Linked DNA regions of Homo sapiens: regions 1, 3, 4, 5, 6 and 7 are each linked to region 2. The links are contacts of gene promoters, found by promoter capture Hi-C in blood cells and fetal thymus (Javierre and others, 2016). All regions are on one chromosome and are shown on one strand. Each heading gives the region's core, a stretch centred on a gene start or on the middle of the fragment in contact. The rest is flanking DNA. Distances are from core to core; before and after follow the strand shown. Region 1 overlaps ARFGEF2 (ARF guanine nucleotide exchange factor 2). Region 2 holds the start of ZMYND8 (zinc finger MYND-type containing 8). Region 3 overlaps CSE1L (chromosome segregation 1 like). Region 4 holds the start of DDX27 (DEAD-box helicase 27). Region 5 holds the start of ARFGEF2 (ARF guanine nucleotide exchange factor 2). Region 6 overlaps ZFAS1 (ZNFX1 antisense RNA 1). Region 7 holds the start of STAU1 (staufen double-stranded RNA binding protein 1).

Region 1 (2,882 bases), core at 310-2,809, 1.6 Mb after region 2:
GATCAATGTGTAATTTTAAGACAAAGCCAGGAGCCTGATTAGAAATGGTTGATAGTCACAATGAGCTGTTAGGGAGAGTGCCAGTGAATTCACATGTTTTTAAAACAGTATTCTAAGATTCTCACCCAAGGATATAGTTACTTATGTGTACAACAATGTATTTAAAAGGATATTTGTTGCAGTTTTAGTTGTTCTAGGGAAAAGTTTGGGTTAAAAAGAGCTAGATGTCCCAACAATATAAGAGATTGCTACTTTTTTTAAAAAGTATGGTACAGCATTTTTTAGAATGTTATGTGGCCATTTAAAATAATGTTGTGGAAAAAAAAGACAGGCAGATAGTATGTGCTCTCTGATGGAAGTACACAATACTACCTAAGAAATGTTCTAGCCCCAACTCAAATCTGAATTGATTCAAGCCTATATTGCCAGTTTACAGGAAATACAGTGGACAGAGAAGCATGTTAGATATGAGGGTGCAGCTTGGAAATTCTAGGTGTGACAGACCTGCAGAGCAGATGACCAGGTTTTTCAGCAAAAAAATTGCAAGAAAAATAAGGGAGGAGGGTTACCTATGAATTAAAAGAGATTTCAGAAAAGAAGATAAAAGATGATTTTAAAGACTATTGTGGGAAAATGGTCACAGTAAAATTACAAGTTGTTATAAGAGATTGTGAGGCATTGTCTCTCGTGGCAAAATACACAGAGAATGCAGTTTGAAAGGATAGACCAAAGCATTAACATTCTGTCTGAGAAATAGAATTATGGAAACTGTTTTATTCTTTTTTTTCTTAATTTCTAATTTTTTCTGCCATCTACATGTATTACTTTTTTGTTTAGAGAGAAAACTGTGAAAGAATAGAGATGAGGCTGTGGAGAATGTAAAGGACAGTTTGACATAGAAAATTGCTGTCATCCTTCTTCCCCATGTGGACCACATGGCTCAGATTCAGAGTAAAGGCTCTAGAGCCTGGCAACTGGGGTCTGATTTGGGGCTCCACCTCTTCCTGCCTGGATGGCACAGGCAGGTTACTTAGTCACCGAGTCCCACCTTCTTCATCTCTACAATCTTCACAGGGTGGTTATGAAAATGAAGAGGGCTTGGGACTGTATTTGGCAAGTAATAAGAACTCAATAGTGTTACCTGCTGTCATCTCCGTGGCGTATGGCTTTGCTCCTCTTCACCAGCCTTTCCTCTCTCTGTCACAACTCTGAGTAGTCCATGTTAGAAATAACTGAGTTATGGCTGGGCACAGTGGCTCACACCTGTAATCCCAGAACTTTTGGAGGTTGAGGCAGAAGGATGGCTTGAGGCCAGGAGTTCCAGACCAGCCTGGGCAACATAGCAAGACCCCATATCTTTAAAAAAAAATTATTTTTTTAATTAGCTAGGCATGGTGGTTCATGCCTGTAGTCCCAGCTACTCAGGAGGCTGAGGCAGCAGGATTGCTTGAGCCCAGGAGTTCAAGGCTGTAGTGAGCCTTGATTGCACCACTGTGCTGCAGCCTGGGCAACAGAGCAAGACCTCATCTCTAAAATAAAAAAATATATATTTTGAATTGTGTGCTTTTTAAAATCATTTCCTGCCTTCTAAGGAGCCATAATACGTAGAGAATCAATGAATAGTTGCTTTTTCTTCTAAAACATTTTTTTAGCCTGGGAGGTATTATCAATATGAGGTTCCTGCTGCCAGCCAAGTATATGGCAGAATCTAGAAATGTTAAAAATTAATTAGCTACCTCTGCGGTTGTCAGAAGCCCTGAGAAATCAGCTTGGAACTAATAAGCCCTTGACCTTTCAGTATTGGTGACGTACTTGAGATTCCAGCTGTCCCCAGCTTCTGCAAAAGGGAGGACATTACTAGCTTACTAATAATAATTTAATAGTGTGTGAAGAAATCAGGGGATGATTCTCTTTGGTGGAATTAAGTCTATTTCTCAGTCAAGAAGAAAGCAATTTATAAGTAAAGATACTCGGCAGTGCTCAGTGGTATAGTGGAGTCCTGGACTCTGGGACTGAGTTGTAAGGTCAGCGTAAAAAGCAACACTGAAGTTCAGTCAGAAGTTCCCATGAAAATTCCTTAGGGTTTCCCTGGAGGTCTGTGTGCCATTCCTTGGTAAGTTTCATGTAGCCAGTGTTTCCTCTGACAGAAGTTGGGACCAGTTTCTGTTTCTACAGCTGAGCTTCAGGTAGGAGGGCCCGTGTGCAGATCTGCATTCTCAAGCACCAGAGGCACCCCTCAGGACCAGGAGATCCAGCCTCATCTCCCACTGCATGCCTGATGTAGAGCATATTCTCATTCCTTCAGTTAAACCAATTAACGATTGCCAACAACTTTAAGTGCCAGGGACTTAAGTGTTCAGCAGTGAACAAGACAGAGTTAATGCCCTCTTGGCACCTAAGGCAGGAAACAAACAAATAGATATATGGTATAATGCCAAAAAGTGGTAAGCACTAAGAAAAAAAAAGTATGAGCAGGACATGGTAATGGGAAGGTACGATCTCACAAGAAAGATCTCTTTGAGAGGGACACACATGTCTGAGCTGGGAATTGAAGGAGTGAGCCATGGGGAGACAACATTCCAGGCATAAGGAACAGTGAGTGCCAAGGCCCTGAGGTGGGACAAGAGATGACAAGTTAAAGGAGCAACAGTGAGGCCAATGAGGCTGGTGTCTTGTCGTCTCACGAGGAGGGTGGAAAAAGGAGGTGGGGGTGACTAAATGATGTGCCTATTAAGTGACATGGTGGGAGGAATCCGCCGCCCCAGTCAAATGCTTTTTCTCTCTTTATTGAGAGCTTACTAAATTTGCATAAACATCTATATGGCATAACTCCATTGAACCAACTTTTTTTTAATGACTAACTTAAGATTACAGTGCCCTTT
Region 2 (3,067 bases), core at 396-2,895:
CACCACCAGCTTCTACACCACCAATGTTTTTAGGGCTCTGCACCTCTAAGAACAAGCAGTTTCATGACATTTCACAAGCACATCACCTACTCACAGTTTGAATATCCAAACAAACCCCATTAAAGGTCTAGAGTCAAGTCACAATGAACTGAACATTTCTCCCCTGACTCAGGGTAAACAGGAAGTATAATCTTCAATCCTAGCTGCAGGTTATCAGGAAAAACAGTGGATTCAAACAGTCACCTAAAATCAAGACACTCTTTAAAAAGCCCTTATTTTGTTCCTGCTAATGAAGCCCCCAACTCCTGTAGCCAAGACCCACTATTACAAACAGACCCCAAATGTTCGCAAAACTCTTCAAACATGGTCACAGAGGAAATGGATTGCTTTACTTACCCAACAAATGTTCAAGCAACCGTCTCATTTTTCCACAGTTAGGAAGAGAGAACAGGCTGGCAGATTTGGGACTTGATCAAAAAGGAAATTTTTTTAAACAGTTACATGGTATTATTAAAAACACACACAACAACAACAACACAACCCAACAACTGAATATGGAATGCTGTCATGAGCCACAGACATGATTTTATTTCCTCTACACTCCATGACACAGGAGAAGAGAGGAGGATACAATGTATAAAAGGGACAGGAAAATGAAAACAAGGATAAAAGGTAACATTAGTTCCTTGAAAATCATGCAAGAGTAGAAAGCTAAGGGATTCAGAATCCTTGCAGATTTTTTTTTTTTTTTTTTTTTGCAGGATGTTGTCCAAGATCTCTCCCCCCACCCCCCAGTCCCCATCCCTACTCCAAAAAACTTCCTCCAAAGCCTAGAAAACACTTTCAGAAACATTTGCTGGCTGTAGGCTGGCTTGCAGAACACTCTGTAGCAACCTAAGTCAGGAAAACAGGCTGAACAATGTAGTTTCAAGTGCAGAAGCTCTGTAGAATAAGAGAAGACCGTGTACAGACACCACCACCCACCTAGGCCCCAGGAGCTAGACTCTCCTTAGCACTGCTCTGCTGAGGGCACAATTCTTTTGCAAACACGCTCCTCTCTTGTCAAAACTTATCCAGCCTTCCCAGAACCTCTTTGGAGAGGCAAACTTGCCTGCTCTGCTGTCTGCCATGAGCTCTCCTTGGAGAGGAGCCTGTTTGCTTACCTTCCATTTTCTTCCCCCAGCAGGGCATGTGGCAAAAGAGAAGACAATAGTGCAGGGGTGGGAGGGGGGGAACTGCTCAGAGAGAGAGAGAGGGGAAGAGAGAGGGAAGAGGGAAAGAAAAAAAAAAAAAGAAGGAAAAAAAAAAGCTTCTTTTTTGGCATACCAGGATCTAGCTTCAAACTCTTCCAGAAACACCATGCCCTGGTGGAAGGAAAGGTGTGCCAGGCCCTTGCCAGTTTGCAAAATCAAGCTATGGCTAATGGCTACTGAGCCATGTGACCCAAGAAAGCAAAAAAATTCTCTCTAAACAGTTCCAAGTTAACATAAGTGCTCTGGGGGTGAGTGTGGCACGGCCAGCCACAGAGAAATCACACTGCTCGCCCACAATTCGGATGTCTCAGAGGGAGGGGGAAAAAAGATGGTTAAAAAGTCGAGCTTACCTCTGTGGATGCATTGTTAACACTGTGTAATGTCAATACTTATAAAACATGGAGGACAGGCTCCTAGTTCTCACAGAAAAAGGGTTTGGCACTTCGGCTGATGATCTGGCCGCCTAATAAAAGCTCATCCCCGATTGGCTGCCCCGGCAAATCGGAGTGTAAAGCCGCCCCGGATTGGCTGAAACACTTCCTGAGCGATTATCTTTGTGAGGCTCGGGTGAGCAAGAGCCATCCTGTGCATAGAAAAAGACAGGCTAAGCTAGGCCTTTTGCAGCAAGAAAAACTTGGGAAAGGGGCCCCCACACGCACTTCTCCTGCACCCTGGCTAGATTTCCCGGCACGGGCCAGCCAGGGCAGCCAGCCTGACCTGCTCCAGGAAAGCCTGAGGCCCGGAGGTCCCTGGGAAGGGAGTTTCTTGGAGTGGGCTGGAACGGCTCACCCTCACCTGCCCCCAGAGAAACGGCCCTTGTCCAGGGAGGAAGGCCAGCCTTTTTCTAGAACAGTCCAGCAGGGTGGCTCTCCAAGGGGAAGGGGAAGCTGGGGAGTGGGGAGTCCCGGGGAAACAGCCAAGGGGCCAGAAAAAGGGGCTTGAGGCAGGCCTCTGAGAAGCTGGGGGAAGCAGGCAGCCCGGGGGAGCCCCGAAAAATCAGCAGAGAGCAGCCCTGGCTTCTCAGAGGAGCGAGGAGTAGCTGCTGAGGGGAGGAGGGGAGCAGAGTGGTCAAGTTTGCATAGTCATTGTCCCCATGCCTCCTTGCAAGGCAGGCCAGGGAGCCGTGGGCCTCTCGCGCCCTGCTTAGCCAGTCCTGCAGGCAAAATCAACGTGGGTTCCTGTCGCCCTGCCACGATGCCAAGGGGGACCCCTCTCGGTCCTTACCCTAAGAAAAACCCAAAGCCCTCCTCGCAGGCCACATGCCTGGATCTACAAACTTCCCTTCCCTCCCGGCCCCTCCCCCGCGGCCGAGACCTGCTAAACCTGTCAGTTAAACACAAATCTGACTTCCGTATTAGCCTGCGATGCCTTCGGCTTCCTGCCTGTTAACCCTCTCTCGGACTCGGGGCCTGGCTGGGAAAAACTAGGCCTTGAGATCGCAGCGAAGGCCTGTGGAAAAATACCAGCTGCAGCTCTCCCGGCAGATGCAGAAAGAGAGAGAGAGAGCCGCTGTCTCTCAGCCTTTGCTTCCCAGGGAGGCGTGTACCTTGTGAATCCAGGGCACAGGCAGTGCCTCTCGGGCTGAGAAGCCATTTCAATCCAGAGGGAGACAGAAAGATGGCACGCTCAGCCCGGAAACAAGAGCCCCCATTATGCGTCAGGCCTACCCCCGTAGGTCAGCCCTTCCTGCCACAATCATCCCTGTATGTGTGTGCCTGGGGGAGTTGGGCCCTCCTCGGTGGGCAGACAAATCCCCTGGGCTTCCTAAGGATTCTTGCTTCCATTTATTTGCACAGAGAACGGCTTCTTTTCGT
Region 3 (2,746 bases), core at 81-2,580, 1.7 Mb after region 2:
AAGGGATAGTCTCCAGTCTTGACTGGAAACTCATGTTTTGCTGGGTGACTGACATGTTGTGACTTATCCTTTAGTTCATACAACAAATGCTTACTAAATATGTACTGTGTGCCAGGTAATGCTGAAGGTCCTGAGCATACAGACGAAAGTCCCTGCCCTCAGGAGCTTGCAGTCTAGTGTGTGTATGAGACGACAAAGAAGTTTATTTCAAATGAGGGTAATTGCTAACACAGTAAAACAAGGATGATGTAGATGGTAATCGTAGAAGGCCTTTTTGAAGAGTTGACAGTGGGCTGAGTGCTGAATGGTGTCCATTATCAAATTAGAGGATGAGCATTATTATGGTCAGGGAGAACTCTTGTGGCCAGTTTGTAGAACAGAAGGCTTTTGTGCCTGGAATGTAGCAAGAGCCAGGAGGAGGTAGGAGATGAGGTCAGTAGATACCAGATTGCTTAGACCCTGCTGTGGTAAGGGATTTGGTGGTGGTGGTGGTGGTGGTGGTTGTTTTGGAGATAGGGTCTCACTCCCATTGCCCAGTCTGTAGTGCAGTGGCCTGATCACAACTCACAGCAGTCTCAATTTGCTGGATCTACAGGTGTGTGCCACCACACCTGGCTAATTTTTTGTATATTTAGTAGAGACAGGGTCTTGCTGTGTTAGCCCAGGCTGGTCTGAAGCCGGCTGAAGCAATCCACCTGCCTTGGCCTCCCAAAATGCTGGGCTAACAGGCGGCAGCCACTGCACCTGGCCAGGAGTTTGGGTGTTTAAGACAAGTAATTATGAGGAATCTAAGGAGTTTTAGTTGAGAAATATACAAATGCTAGAGAAACATAATGAAGAAAGTGAAATGCAGATTTATTAAGAAGTGTATTTTTAAAAATCAAGAAAATAAGCCCTGTGTGGTGGCATATGCCTGTAGTCCCAGCTATTCCAGAGGCTGAGGCAGGAGGATTGTTTGAGCTCAGGAGTTAGAATCCAATCTGGACAATACAGTGAGACCCCCTGTCTCTCTTTTTTTTTTTTTTTTTTTTTTTTAAAGACAAAATAGATCTGTAAATCTGCCCCTGCACCCTCCCCACCCAAGTTTCTAACAATCTGCCTTGCATGAATCCCCAAAGGTAGAATAAATTTGCATATGGCAAAGAAAGGCCAATTTCCTTTAACTCAGATACACTGATGTTAATGATTTAACTTGACCACAGCAAACTAACTTTTTTTTTTTTTTTTTTTTTTTTTTTTGAGACTGCGTTTCTCTCTTGTTGCCCAGGCTGGAGTGCAATGGCGCAATCTCGCCTCATTGCAACCTTTGCCTCCCAGGTTCAAGCAATTCTCCTGCCTCAGCCTCCCAAGTAGCTGGGATTACAGGCATGTGCTACCAGGCATGGCTAATTTTTAGTAGAGACGGGGTTTCACCATGTTGGCCAGGCTGGTCTCAAACTCTTGACCTCAGGTGATCTGCCCCTCTCAGCCTCCCAGAGTGCTGGGATTATAGGTGTGAGCCACCACACCTGGCCCAAACTTTCATGATTTCATAACTGATCCACCATTTCAATACAGAAAAAAGGAATAGGAAAATAAATGGATTAAATCATTGCTTTCCAAAGTGTGTTCTATTGAAAAGGAGTTCTATAGCCAAATAATGGGAGAGACTGGGCAATCCTCCCACCTTAGCCTCCCAAGTAGCTAGGACTACAGGGCCACACCACCACGCCCGGCTAATTTTTTGTATTTTTAGTAGAGATGGGGTTTTGCCATGTTGCCCAGGCAGGTCTTGAACTCCTGGGCTCAAGCGATCGTCTGCCTCAGCCTCCCACCAGTGGAGACTCTGGATTAATTGATGTGAACCAGTAACTTTGTGAGTTTAAAGTGCTTTGTATTGTGAATCTCCAAAGTGGGGCAGGATATAATGTGTAGCATTTTCCAAACTTGTGATATAAAAAACCATAAAGGGTATAGCCTCTCAATAGATTGTATGTGTGGTTTAATGGGACTTGATTTTCACACCTATAGAGTGGAACACCTGGATTAGAGGGAGTGATTAGGTAGGTGGTGGGATCTACTCAGTCAGAACATTAGCTTCCTGTGATAAACACATTTTCTAATTAAGGGGAAGGACTGCAGCATGTAGAATACAGATAATTCTCTTTAGAAGGTTGGGGTTTCTGGCTGTTGGGGAGTGCCCTGCATAAGCACAGCATTAGATAATATTTTCTTATTTTCTGGCTCCCCACCGCTCAGTTGTCCTCTGGCTGCCCTCTTTTCACATCAGCCTTTCTATTGTGTTGTGAGTGCTTTCACTCTTGGTCAGCCGTCTGTCATTTCCACCTAAGAGGCAGCCTTGGGTAATAGAAAGAGGGTAGACCTACGGAGTTGGACTGATTTAAATCTGATCTTTATTTATTAACCATATATAGTTAATATATGTCAACCTGAGTGCCCTTCTTTGTGTGTAAAATCATTGTGTGGAATAAATGATATGAAGCCTATGAAAACATCTAGCATCGTGTGCCTGGTTCATACATGTGACACTTCCCCCATTCTGCAAACCATTACCAGCCCAAAGGTCCTCTACTCCACTTTCATTACATTTTTACCCACTTAAGAAAACCTTCATGACTTCCCCATACATTAAATCATGGCACTCTTCAGCCAAGTATGGAGGAACCTATATGATCTGGTCTTGATCTCCTAGCCCACTATTCTCTCTTCCCATCTCTGTTACTTTGCTCTCACAATTCATTTTGGC
Region 4 (3,211 bases), core at 690-3,189, 1.9 Mb after region 2:
TGCAGTGATCCATGATCTCCACTGCACCCCAGCCTGGGCGACAGAGCCAAACCCTGCCTCAAAAAAAAAAAAAAAAAAAAAAAAGACAAAAAATTACTTAGAATTTTACCACCCAGAAGCAATCACAGCTAACTGCTTATTGTATTTTCTTCCACAGCTTTTTTTTGTATCTAAATATACACATCTAGAGTTTATAAATGCAACTCTTTAGACTCTCTCACCCTTCCACCCTCCTCAAATACTGCCACCGTTTTGAGGCCGGAGACAATGGAATTTGCTTACCTAAAAAGCTCCGCCCCTTGATGGCGTCACACGAAACCAACCACGCCCCATATTGCCGCATGCGCACTCTTAAGAGGTCGAACGGGGAGGGCGGCAGGGGCTCTGGAACGGAAGTGACGCATGGTACTTGCGCAAAGACGACGAGGAGGCTGCGAAAAGTTAAGGGCCGGACCGCAGGCTGTGCTCGCTTCCGGAAGTGGCTTCTGCGACAACATGCTTGCGGACCTCGGCTTAATCGGAACCATAGGCGAGGATGACGAGGTGCCGGTGGAGCCCGAGTCTGACTCCGGGGACGAGGAAGAGGAGGTATGAGCACGGTTCTGGTCTTTGGGTTTCCTTGACTGCTTCCCTTCCTCGCGATTCCTCAGGTCCCTGTCCCCGAATCCTCATCATCCCCTGCCAGCCCCGGAAGTTTCCCGAAAAGGATCTCACCGGGACCCCAAGATCTTCCTCAGTTTCCCCGCCACTAGGTTATCTCTACGTCCGCCTGCTTCTTTGGCCATGTCGTTCCCTGTCTCCTTGCTGAACTCAGTATCTATTCACTGAACTGATATTTAACCACGCCCTGTGTAAGAGACGGCAGGTTTCTTACACCTTGTAAGAGGTGAAGTCAGCCATGGTTCCTGCTCAAGGAGCCATGGTTAGCTGTCCTTTCGTATGTTCATCGAGCCAGTGTTTATTGAATACTTAACGCCTGCTAGACTTAGTGTTAAGCGTTGGGGGCGTAGCAATGAACAAGGTGAGTGCCACTCTCCTGAAGCGTATGGTGGTGTGGGGGCTTGCAGACATTAAGCAGTATGGCAATTAAAGAGGTATTGGTGTTCTGAAAAGGATGCTTGCCCTTCAAACATTCAGCCCAGATGTTGTCCCCTCTGCACTCTCATCTGTCCGCCTGATAGGTTTATCCAGATGTCCCATGGCCTCTACAAATTCAACTCCTCCAAAGATGAACTTGTGTTCACTCTCATCCTGTTCCCTTCTCAAGCCAGAAACCTTAGAGTTATTCTTGACAGTTTTTTCTTCCTCACCGCCGCCAGTGCTCTGCAAGCTAGCTCATGAATCTCTCTTAAGCTTCTCCCGCCTCTCTCCATTCACACTGTACCCACCCTAGCTCCGGCTACTGCTGTCTCATGCTTGCACACCAGCACACCTGCAGTCCAAACATACTTCATCTTCATCTCTTTATCTTGAGCACTTCCAGTGTATTCTTCGCTTAGCAGCAGAGGGATCTCTGCGATACAGTCACGTTAGAGACCTCCCTTGCTTAAAACTCTCCAGCCTGCTGGTAGAGACCCCCGGGCCTGTCCACCTTGCAAAGACTCCTCAGGCAGCGTCTGGGTCCCGTACACTGTCGCCATTTCCCCGATGTCCCCTGTGGGCGCGGGCGGCCACCCAGGCCTGCTGGCTGCGGCCCCCTCTCGGACAGGCCTTGGCTCAGCCCGCTGCGTGGGAGGTCATGGGCCAGTCCCCGAGGAGCCAGGCCCCTGTACAGTGCCCGGTCACACCCATGATGCGGGGTGTGTTTGTCACACCCATGATGCGGGGGGAATTGTTTGTGTTTGTTTTTCAAGAAATGATTCAAATTGCTAAAAACAAAACAAAACAAAACAAAAAAAACTCTCCAGCCTGCTTTCACGTGGCTTTCAAGGTCCTCACGATCTTGTCCTTTCCACCTTGACTTTCATCTCTCACAGCTCTCCTCTTCATGACCAACACTCCAGTCTCATTCACTTCATTTTTTTTTAAGACAGAGTCTTGCTCGGTCGCCCAGGGTGGAGTGCAGTGGCGCGATCTCGGCTCACCGCAGCCTCCCCCTCCCGGGTTCAGGCAATCCTCCTGCCTCAGCCTCCCTAGTAGCTGGGACTACAGGCATGCGCCACCACGCCCGGCTAATTTTTGTATTTTTAGTAGAGACAGGGTTTCACCATATTGGCCAGGCTGGTCTTGAACTCCTGACCTTGTGATCCACCCACCTCGGCCTCCCAAAGTGCTGGGATTACAGGCGTGAGCCACCACACCCGTCTTTTTTGTATTTTTAGTAGAGACTGCGTTTCATCATGTTGGTCAGGCTGGTCTTGAACTCCTGACCTTGTCTGCGTGCCTTCGCCTCCTAAAGTGCTGGGATTACAGGTGTGAGCCACTGTGCCTGGCCCCTTCTTGCTTTCTATCATTCTTTATCTCAGCCCCAAAGTCACTCTGTCTCTTACTCTTCCCAGGGGCCCATTGTGCTGGGCAGACGACAAAAAGCTTTGGGGAAGAACCGCAGTGCTGATTTCAACCCTGATTTCGTTTTCACTGAGAAGGAGGGGACGTACGATGGCAGCTGGGCCCTGGCTGATGTCATGAGCCAACTCAAGAAGAAGGTGAGACTGACAGTGATGGACAGCTCCAGACTTTGGGCTATTAAGATTGGACTGTGAGTTTCAGGGCCTAGCCCTGACCTGACTGACCATCTGTTTACATTCAGCAGATACTACAACTCCTTTGAAAATAACTGGTTAAAAAAAAACAAAAGAAAATATCTGGTATACTTTTGATGAGATGGGCACAGGGATCACAAATGACTCACTGTCTTTTTTTTTTTTTTTTTTCTGAGTCTGCTTGCTGGGGAGACTCCTCTTTAATACCAAACAAAGTATGAGCACTTGCCAGGTGGTCTCCGGTGGTGTCACTGTGCAGTGTCCCTGGTTCCCACACAGCACAGCCAAAGCTACCACAGATGTCATTGTCATCTGTTTGTTTGCCAAGATCCCATGCCTTTCTGTGAATCTGGTTAAACTAGAAGATGCATCTAAGTTATTTTCCATTTCATGTCTTCAAAGAGAAATATTGCCTGTCCAGAACAGTTTAATCCAGGCTTTGCTGGTCCTTACTCTGATTGAAGTAAACCAGCATTGCCTTTTCTTTTTTTTTTTGAGACAGAGTCTCT
Region 5 (2,771 bases), core at 200-2,699, 1.6 Mb after region 2:
TTCTTCCCCTGACTCCCAAAGCCCAGGTCCAGTTCACTGCACTGTGAGGGTTCACAGGTTTATAACAGGATAAACTACAGAGAGAGGTCAGTGCTTCCTGGTATACTATGCACAGCTGCGACACTCAATAAACAGAAGTTCACTGAACTGCAAGGTCACTGCTGCTGTGACAGGAGGGTCATATGGATGTGTGTATCTTGCCAGTGGCTGTGGTGAAACCCTGCTTGTGGAGAATAGACATAAACACACCTTCTCTCTCTCCCTCTCTGTCTTCCTTTCACCTCCCCTCTCCCTCCACCCCTTCCATTTCCTATTCTCCCAGCATGTTCTTTCCACTCTTCCTCACCTCCTTCCCCTTCACCTCCTTCCTACACCATTCCTTTTTCCATCTCTTTCCTGTTTTCCTAACTTGTTACTCTCATCTTTTTCTTTCTTTTCTGTTCTTCCTGACAGCTCCCCTTCCTACCTCCTCTCCCTTCACCCTTTCTCCTACTCTTTCCCCTCCTCTCATTTCTACCTCTCTTTCCTTTTCACTTCCCCTCTCCCTCCTGTCTTTCTCCTTTTTCTTTTACCTCTGTGCCTCCCTCTCACCTCTTCCCACACCACCTCATCTCCTCCATAACTAACTCACCTCCTTTTTGTTTGTTTGTTTTTTGAGACAGGGTCTCCTTCTGTGGCCCAGGCTGGAGTGCAGTGGTGCCATCACAGCTCACTGCGGCCTCAACCTCCGAGGCTCAAGCGATCCTCCCACCTCAGCCTCCCCAGTAGCTGGGACCACAAGCAGCGCCACCAGGCCCGGCTGTTTTACTTTTTATTTTGTAGAGAAAGGGTCTCCCTATGTTGCCCAGGCTGGTCTCGAACTCCTGGGCTCAAGCGATGCTCCCGCCTTGGCCTCCGGAAGCGCTGGGATTAGAGGCGTGAGCCGCCGCGCCGGGCCTCCCCCCTTCCCCTCCGCCGCCGCCTTCTCATCGCCCTTCCTCCTTCCTCCTGACGCCCCTTACTCCCGATCACTTCTCATTCATTCACCAGCTTCCAGTCCTCGCTCCCTCACCTCTTTTCTTTCCTACTCGCCTTCTCCTCCTGCCCCTTTATCATCTCTCCTTGTCACCGTTCTTTTTTGCCAATCCTCTCGTTCCCCTTCCTTTCCTCATCTCCTCTCTTACCCACGTCATCTCCATTCTCGTGCTCCCCTTCACCTCCCGTTACCTTGCGCTTCTCTCCTCTCATCTCCATCACCACCTCTCCCCGCTTTCGCCTTTCTTTAGCCCCCGCGTCCCCTATACCCTTCGCCCATGCCCACTCCCCTCCCCACCTTCTCTTCTTCCACCCTCCACCCTCGCCTTCTGTCTCTCGCCCACCTGACTCCGCTCCGCCCCCAGCCTTAGGCTCCGCCCCGCTGGGGGTCACGGGGCCGACGGACGCTAGGCGGCCGTAGCGGCCTCGCCAGTCACGTGGTCACGTGACGCGCTCCAACATGGCGGCGCCGTGGGGCCGAGGTGTCGCTTCCTGACGGGGCGGCGCGGACGGACGCGGCCGGTGCCGGCCGGGACGCCGGGCCCGCAGCCTAGCTCGCCATCTCGCTCACGCCGCCCGCCCGCGGGGCCGTCAGCCCCCGCCGGGCCGGGGCCATGCAGGAGAGCCAGACCAAGAGCATGTTCGTGTCCCGGGCCCTGGAGAAGATCCTAGCCGACAAGGAGGTGAAGCGGCCCCAGCACTCCCAGCTGCGCAGGGCCTGCCAGGTGGCGCTCGGTGGGTGAGCCGCTCCCGCCCTGCCCCGCGCTGGCCTCAGCACGTCGGCCGTTGCCCTATCCTACTCGGCCTTGGCCCGGCCTCCTGGCCTCCGCTTCCCCCCGATCCCGAATTCCACCCTTCCGGCCTCCTCCTCATTATACCCCCGGAGGAAGTGTTGCCCGGGCAGCTCGGGACTGGCCCAAGGTCACCTAGCAAGTTGGTGACAACCAGAGCTTGTTCCTCAGGGTTCCAGCTCAGGGCTTTTGCCACGATTCCTTGTCGCCCTGTTTCCTGGTTCCTCCCCTCACCACCTCCAAGTCCTAGAAACAGTAGCCCTTGCCCCAAGTTTTTTCGTTACCTGAGCTCTGCTGATTGGGGTTCCCCTAGGTGAACAGAGCATGTAGGAAGAGCCGTCCAACTGGTTTAGGGAAACCCCTGATTCTTGTTTTGGAAGTGCCCGTTGGAGAATGTTTTCCTTTGGTTTGGGGATCTCCCATAGCTCTTTCCCTCAAGGAAGGATTGTAGAAGGTGTTCTGGATCTCCCAGGCATTGTAGTGAGCAAGACATCTGCTTATTCCTAGCAGTCCACTAAAATACAAGGTCTTCAGCGCGAAGATACTTGTCTGACTTATTCATTGCTGTATCCCTTGCGCTTGCAACAGTGCCTGGCGCACAGTAGGTGCTCGATAAATATTTGCTGATTGAATGGACCCTCAGATTATGGAAAGAGGGAGAATTCTAACTAATAGTTAAAGGCTTGATAATTGATAGCAAAATCACTATCCTATCTTTCAGTTTTAATCATTTAACAAATATTTATCAAGTGCCCACTGCATACCAGGTACTGAGAATTCAGTGGGGAACAAGACGGACATGGTCCTTACCCCTATGGAGCTTATACTCGAATAGAGGAGACAAAATAATTAATTAAGAAAATAGGTGAGGTATTTTGGAATACTGATAAATACTATTTTGAAAATAAAACAGCAAGATGTGATAAAGAGGGCTTGAGGACTGCTTTCCATGGTCAGGAAAGTAAT
Region 6 (2,874 bases), core at 276-2,775, 1.9 Mb after region 2:
TTTCCCATTTGGGGCATTCTCTTTTGAAGTGACCTACTCTTCCACATTTGAAACATTTGTTTTCCCCTCTTCCCTGTCCTGCACTGTGACTTCCAGGTTTTATTCCCTTACTCCTTGTATACAGTTTGGTCGCTGGTGGCCTAGAGGGTTTGTAAGTTTTACTTCCTTGTGTCTCCTACTGCAGAGTTCTCTGTTGTAAGGTAGACAGCATGATTTTTGCCTTTTGTTTCTGCTGCTCTTTGTCCCTACTTATATGCTTCTCTAAGAAGTTAGTCTCTGGGACAATCTTTCCAATTCTCTATCTTTTGTAGTTGTTTTTAGAGGTGTTTGGCCAAGTCTTAGTAACAAAATGAAGCTTTAGCATCCCTTGCCCCAGTGGGTCTTCCATTTCTAAACCTGCATATTTTCTCATCTGTTCTTTAAGCCTATTTAGGAATTCATGGGTCCTTCATCCATCCCTTGTATGTTGAATGCTTGGGAAATACTCTCAGTTCGGGATACTGATGGAACATTTTGACCGGTAGGGTGTTAATGTTCCCAGACTACCAAAGCAGCCCTATGGATCATGGTTCTTCTCCCAAGAAGGGAATGCCTAAAATGGACATAAGCTCGGCCCATACAACTGGGGTCCTAAAAAATGATTTGATCTGCTACCCCATAAGGGTCATCTAACAAGGGCTTGAGTTTTTCTTTTTTTTTAGATTTTGTACTTCTGAGCTGGTTAAGGGGGCATTTACGAAGCTGATGCCTCCTCTCCCAAGGGGCACTTCTTCAAGGGGAAGAGAGTTGGGGGCAATTCTTTGGAGGTGGAAAGGGGAAAGGGAAGTTCTGAGTATCCTTTTTACATTGTTCTATTTCATGCTGTAGGGCTTAAGTGTGTGGCTAGGGGGAACATGGGGTATTGATTCAGGATTATATGGGGGAGGGACTGATGAGTGGGGGGATCCTGTGTACCGGCTTGATGCATGGGGTTTGGCAGAGGCAAGTGGTCTGGTGGGTCCCATATGTTAGCAGGCTGTTCGGGGGTAGAGACCTTACTCCTTTCAGAGGAGTTGGCTTCTGGCTTGCTTCCTGTAGTTATGTTTAGTCCTTTCACTATCCTTTTAGCATGAGAACCTAGGGGACTGTCAGAGGGGATGTTACTGTCATTAATTTGATCCTTTCTATTTACTGTCTTTCTTGAGGTATTTTGCATAATGAAGGTTTGGTGTGAGGCCCAAAATTAGATTTATTGCCTTTCCTCATAGGCTCAACCTCCCTTACTGGAGATTTCTTGCCATTCCTTTCTCTAGAGGGTCAGCCCCTGGCTACTGGAGATTTCTTGCACTCTTCTCCTTTTGCTTCATCCTTCTCTGGCTGCTTCCCAGGAGGGAATATTTCAGGTCCTCCTTAGCATTGGTGTGTCAGTATAAGCCCCATGACAGGAATCCACCATAAGCTATACGAGGTGACCATGGAATCACAGATCCGGAATCATCGCTCGCTTCGCACTCAGTTGTGCGTCTCATTGACACACTTTCAACCTCTAAAATGCCCTGACCACCAAGGAAATACTTTGTCGCCCCTGTGACTTTTCTTAACTTGGTCTGTGCAGTTACCTGGTCACCGCAGTATGTGAGGATCCTTTCCGCCTGTGTTGCTGAGAGTCTGGGTTTATGTGTCACCTTGGGTGGGACCCAATCTCCTGTTTGTGAGGCCACCGCAAAGAGGTGGTGGGATGCCTCTCCTCAAGAGAGGTGATCGTGGGCTTCTCCTGAAGGAGAACGGTAATCCCAGATGAGCTCCCAAATTGTTGGCAATAAGAGCTCAGAGTTGCAAAGAAAATGATCTCCAAAAGATTTCTCAGCAAGGCAGATTTACTTCTGCAGAATGGTGCTGCTTGCACTCCTGGTCACAGTGAGAGCACCCCGAACAAAGGAGGTGAAGTGGTTTTTATCCCTAACACAGCTAGTTCCTGCTTCTGTGTTCTATCCCCATTGGCTAGAGTCCAATCTAAACTAGTCCTGATTGGCTATTTTAAACAGGAGGGGTGTGGGTTACAGCAGTGGGAAGAGCAGTTGCCACGAGCGAGGGAGACTTTTCCAGATAAGGAACAAATGCGGGTTACAGGTTGGGATTGGTGGGAGAAATGTTTACAGAATGGGTAATTAGGAGTGGGAAGGTATGAGGAAGTTGACCTTAAGAACAAAGAACAAGGAAGTTAAACTTTGAAGAGAAACCCATCATACCTAACAGTCTTGTAAGAAAGGATGACAAAGTGATTGAACATTGGGTGGAGCTAATTTTCCTTGGCCAATTCACTTAGTAAGATAAGGAGCTCCAAATCATATTTAAGTTGGGAGTCAATTGATTTTACTTAATTCTTGTGAGGTTCAGTTATAAGATTCATCATACTACTACCATGAGCCATCCTCAGCTCCTTGTTACATGGGCCTGTTAACATGGCAGCTTTGTCTATAAGCAAACCCAGGAGAGAAAGACATAGCAGAGATGGATGTTTGAAGTCTATACCTTCCACCCCCTTTAAAGAGAAAGTAACACCACTCCTTTTCTGTGTCCCTTGGGGACACTACCTCCATGTCTGGTCACATGGCTGGACTTTACAGCAGATAAGCATACTGTGGCCTGAGACCATGATTGTATGCTTTCCTTCTGCTGACCTTTACAATCCCTCAATAAATTGAGCTAACACAGGGAAGCTTTTTTACCAAATAACTGTGTTGCATCATCCTCCAGTTTGCCTGGTGTCCTTAATCAATGGAAGGGGAATAAGCAAACTGAGTTTTCTTACACCTTTTGAGTATAGTGTTTTTGCCATCATAGATGTGGCTCCTCATAATTCTCCAACTTTTATATTAAAAAACCAAAACCTCA
Region 7 (3,135 bases), core at 473-2,972, 1.8 Mb after region 2:
AAAACTAAGTACAGAATTTTTAAAAACCCAGTATGTTTTAGTAAAGTTGCTGTTCTAAAAATCCCACCTGTCACCAGGATAACCGAAACTGCTCCCTCTACACTCCAACTGTATTTTTAGTTTTTACCTCAACAAGTAGCAATGCAATTTACACTTGGTAAGCACGGATTCCTGAAACGCCAAAATCAACCGGGAACCTGATTTAACTCCACCACGCTCTTAACAATGAAAGCTACAAGCAGAAGAGAAGTGTGACCTTAAAAACTTCCACACAGCCGAAGAACAGTGGCAGAACAGACTGAAGCACGTATCTTCGCGGAACAGAAGAAAACTTCCACACAAGCAATACTGCAACACGGAGGCGGGGCAAGGGCTTAAAAGGAAAGTCAGCCAACAGGGAGGGGTGAATATAAGCAAAGCTTCCGTGAAAAAAAACTTATCGAGGTGTAGAGCAAGACAAGACAGACAAATTTTTCCATCTCCGTACACCCCCCTTCAGAGCCCAACACACAGCAAGTGCTCTAGATAGGTTTGCTCAACTCAAGGGAAGCTTCTGCCAGCAACTTTCCCAGAAATGGAATGACAAGAAGAAGCTGGATGATGGCGGGGCGGGGAGAAATGGACAGGTTGCTCATCCTGCGGGAGATGGTGAATATCCTGCAGTTGCCTAAGCGGAGATGGAAAGAAACAGCATCCATCGTTTACAGACTGTCAACTACAGTGTCCCAATTAAGCGTACGCCCCTTTCAGATGTTAACAACTGAAAACAATGCCCTGGCTCTGGACATGGGCACGCGGAACACTGCAGCCTCTAAGAAACCCAAACGGATAGGTAGGTCAACTTCTATCCACTCTGCCCATTAAATTATACCTTCATATCACGCTAATAAATTATGCAGACGGTTTACTGGGACACGCTGTGGGTCTGGCACTCTGATAAGCGCTTTACACGCCCCATTTCACTGAACCTTAAGAGGCAGGGACGGTATTAGCAGCCCCTTTTCCAACCAAGACACAAAGACTTTTTAAGTGTCTTGCCTAACGGGGCAGAGCCGGGTTCGGCACCCGTTTTGGACACCTGGGCCGTGCTCTTAACCACTAAGCTACAGACCTGGGCCGGCGACACTGAGAGGCTCCAGCCCTCGGGGACCTGAAGCAGGGACCCCCCCCCCCCCCCGCCTGCGCCCCAGCCCCGGGAATAACTTCGGCATCCCCGCGCGCGCCATGCGGGACGAGGAAAGGCGGCCGCAGCACCTGTTTGTGGCACCGGTGAGGGCTGGAGGGGATGGGGGCGCCCGGGGCCAGGCCTCAGGGCGCCCCGAGGCGAGGGAACGCAAGAGGACCCGCCTCCTCCGGGAAGGCCCCGCGGGCTAGAGAGAGGCCCGGGAGAAGGCGGAGGGGTGCGCGGGCCCGCCGAGGCCTAGGCCCCACCCGCCGCCCACCTCCCCACCGCGGCGGCGCCCGCGAGGGCCCCACCAGGCCCGGCCCGGCCCGGCCGCCTCACCTGGCTGCTGCTCCGAGCTCGTCCCCCGGCCGGCGGTCCTGGGCGGTGGCGGCGAGGAGGGGAAGGAAGAAGGAAAAAAGGGAGAGGAAGAAGGGACGAAGGGAGGGAAGAGGCGGAGTGGCCGTGGAGGAGGCGGGCGCCGCCGGGCCGGGGGGGGGAGGCGGTCAAAGGAAGCGGGAGCCGAGAGAGACGCGGCAGCCGCCGGCGCAAACGCTGAAGAGCCGCTCAGGCGCCCGCAGCCCGGCAGGAAGTGACGGGGGAGGGGCAGGCGCCCGCCCCCGGCCCCCGCCCGCCTCCAGGCCCGGCCCCGGCCCCACCCCCACCCACGGTCCGAACCACAAGTTCCGGCTGGCACTGCGGCGGAGCCTGCGCTCGCAAGGCACGCCGGGGGCCCAGCGGGAGGAGCGCCCTGTCCCGCCTGGACCGCAGCGGCCCGTCCTGAGTCCCGGGGCCTGCCGGGAGTTGTAGTTCTGGTGGGAGTTTCGCGCTGCCTGCTGGACTCGAAGCGGGTCTGGGAGAACCCAGCCTACCTTCTTTCCTCCTCCACTTCCTTTTTCCTTCCTTGCTGTCGCTTCTTCCTCTTGTCCTGCCTCTGGCCTTCCTTTCTCTCCTTCCTGCAGTTGTTTCTTCCTCCATCTGTAAATGTTCATTAAATGCTTGCCATATGCAAGGCATTGCTCCAAGAGCTAAGAATGTAGTGGTGAACTGACAAAAATCCCTGCCCTCGTGGAGCTTACATTCTTGTGTAAGTAAAATACACAATAAATAAAATTGAAAAATGTGTAGTGAGATAAAAGACAATGGCCCGGGCGCGTTGGCTCAGGCCTCTAATCCCGGCACTTTGGGAGGCCGAGGCGGGCGGATCACTAGGTCAAGAGATCGAGACCATCCTGGCTACCACGGTGAAACCCCCGTCTCTACTGAAAATACAAAAAATTAGCCGGGCGTGGTGGCGGGCGCCTGTAGGTAAACAGCTACTCGGGAGGCTGAGGCAGGAGAATCGCTTGAACCCGGGAGGCGGAGATTGCAGTGAGCTGAGATCGCGCCGCTGCACTCCAGCCTTGGCGACAAAGAGACACTGGTCTCAAAAAAAAAAAAAAAAAAAAAAAAAAAAAAAAAAAAAAAGACGAGAAGTGCCAGATTACTATTTATTTCACCCAGACCTAGATAAACTAAGTGGTTTTTAGCAGCTGTATTGTATGGGAGGTTGGAGAGAGGGTGGCCAGTAAAGAATCTTGGCCAGGCGCAGTGGCTCACGCCTGTAATCCCGGCACTTTGGGAGGCCGAGGTGGGCGGATCACCTGAGGTCAGGAGTTCGAGACCAGCCTGACTAACATGGTGAAACCCCGTCTCTACTAGCCGGATGCAGTGGTGGGCGCCTGTAATCACAGCTACTTGGGAGGCTGAGGCAGGAGAATCTCTTGAACCCGGGAGACGGAGGTTGCAGTGAGCCGAGATCACGCCATTGCACTCCAACCTGGGCAACAGAGTGAGACTCTGTCTCAAAAAAAAAAAAAAAAAAAAAAAGAATCTTGAACTTCTGCACACTCAGCGAAAATTATGCTCGCGTTGTGAGAGGTCCAAGAAACTGAGAATGAATGAAGGAACTGCAGGTGCACAGAGCTTCTCTC

Evidence for each region. Contacts are between HindIII fragments. The CHiCAGO score rates a contact against its expected background, and 5 or more counts as called.
Region 1: a contact is called between a fragment that was not itself captured here and the fragment with the promoter of ZMYND8 in region 2, in 1 of 17 cell types (total B cells). The highest score is 5.5, in total B cells.
Region 3: a fragment that was not itself captured here is called in contact with the fragment with the promoter of ZMYND8 in region 2 in 1 of 17 cell types (total B cells); the score reaches 5.4 in total B cells.
Region 4: a fragment that was not itself captured here is called in contact with the fragment with the promoter of ZMYND8 in region 2 in 2 of 17 cell types (fetal thymus and naive CD4 T cells); the score reaches 5.8 in fetal thymus.
Region 5: a contact is called between the fragment with the promoter of ARFGEF2 here and the fragment with the promoter of ZMYND8 in region 2, in 3 of 17 cell types (activated CD4 T cells, naive CD8 T cells and total B cells). The highest score is 7.1, in activated CD4 T cells.
Region 6: a fragment that was not itself captured here is called in contact with the fragment with the promoter of ZMYND8 in region 2 in 2 of 17 cell types (fetal thymus and activated CD4 T cells); the score reaches 7.1 in fetal thymus.
Region 7: the fragment with the promoter of STAU1 here is called in contact with the fragment with the promoter of ZMYND8 in region 2 in 5 of 17 cell types (naive CD4 T cells, total B cells, naive B cells and 2 more); the score reaches 7.6 in naive CD4 T cells.

Annotation. Positions count from the first base shown.
Region 1 is chr20:48,991,520-48,994,401 of GRCh38, forward strand. All of the region lies in intron 21 of ARFGEF2 (ARF guanine nucleotide exchange factor 2), which reads left to right. Among named protein-coding and RNA genes, the nearest start is that of CSE1L-DT, 53 kb to the right of the region's middle. The HindIII fragment of the contact is 5,000 bases long and covers 1-2,882 here.
Region 2 is chr20:47,355,054-47,358,120 of GRCh38, forward strand. It overlaps ZMYND8 (zinc finger MYND-type containing 8), which reads right to left and starts at 1,646. Exons shown (of 23, transcript NM_001281775.3): 1 at 1,604-1,646. The coding sequence starts at 1,617. RefSeq lists enhancers at 1,457-1,626, 1,470-2,077, 1,612-1,906, 2,657-3,006, 2,686-3,067 and 2 more. The HindIII fragment of the contact is 2,834 bases long and covers 1,308-3,067 here.
Region 3 is chr20:49,052,137-49,054,882 of GRCh38, forward strand. All of the region lies in intron 1 of CSE1L (chromosome segregation 1 like), which reads left to right. Among named protein-coding and RNA genes, the nearest start is that of CSE1L, 7.2 kb to the left of the region's middle. The HindIII fragment of the contact is 7,559 bases long and covers 1-2,746 here.
Region 4 is chr20:49,218,954-49,222,164 of GRCh38, forward strand. It overlaps DDX27 (DEAD-box helicase 27), which reads left to right and starts at 463. Exons shown (of 21, transcript NM_017895.8): 1 at 463-588; 2 at 2,499-2,645. The coding sequence starts at 496. It also overlaps a transcript of STAU1 not described here. RefSeq lists an enhancer at 51-776. The HindIII fragment of the contact is 1,176 bases long and covers 1,352-2,527 here.
Region 5 is chr20:48,920,262-48,923,032 of GRCh38, forward strand. It overlaps ARFGEF2 (ARF guanine nucleotide exchange factor 2), which reads left to right and starts at 1,450. Exons shown (of 39, transcript NM_006420.3): 1 at 1,450-1,749. The coding sequence starts at 1,629. RefSeq lists silencers at 1,211-1,290, 1,521-1,620, 1,661-1,710 and an enhancer at 2,081-2,160. The HindIII fragment of the contact is 17,186 bases long and covers 1-2,771 here.
Region 6 is chr20:49,285,281-49,288,154 of GRCh38, forward strand. All of the region lies in intron 3 of ZFAS1 (ZNFX1 antisense RNA 1), which reads left to right. Among named protein-coding and RNA genes, the nearest start is that of SNORD12, 6.0 kb to the left of the region's middle. RefSeq lists enhancers at 1,024-1,955, 1,956-2,874. The HindIII fragment of the contact is 2,344 bases long and covers 354-2,697 here.
Region 7 is chr20:49,186,612-49,189,746 of GRCh38, forward strand. STAU1 (staufen double-stranded RNA binding protein 1) reads right to left here and starts at 1,723. Exons shown (of 14, transcript NM_017453.4): 1 at 1,505-1,723. RefSeq lists an enhancer at 467-536 and silencers at 937-1,096, 1,327-1,996. The HindIII fragment of the contact is 4,529 bases long and covers 549-3,135 here.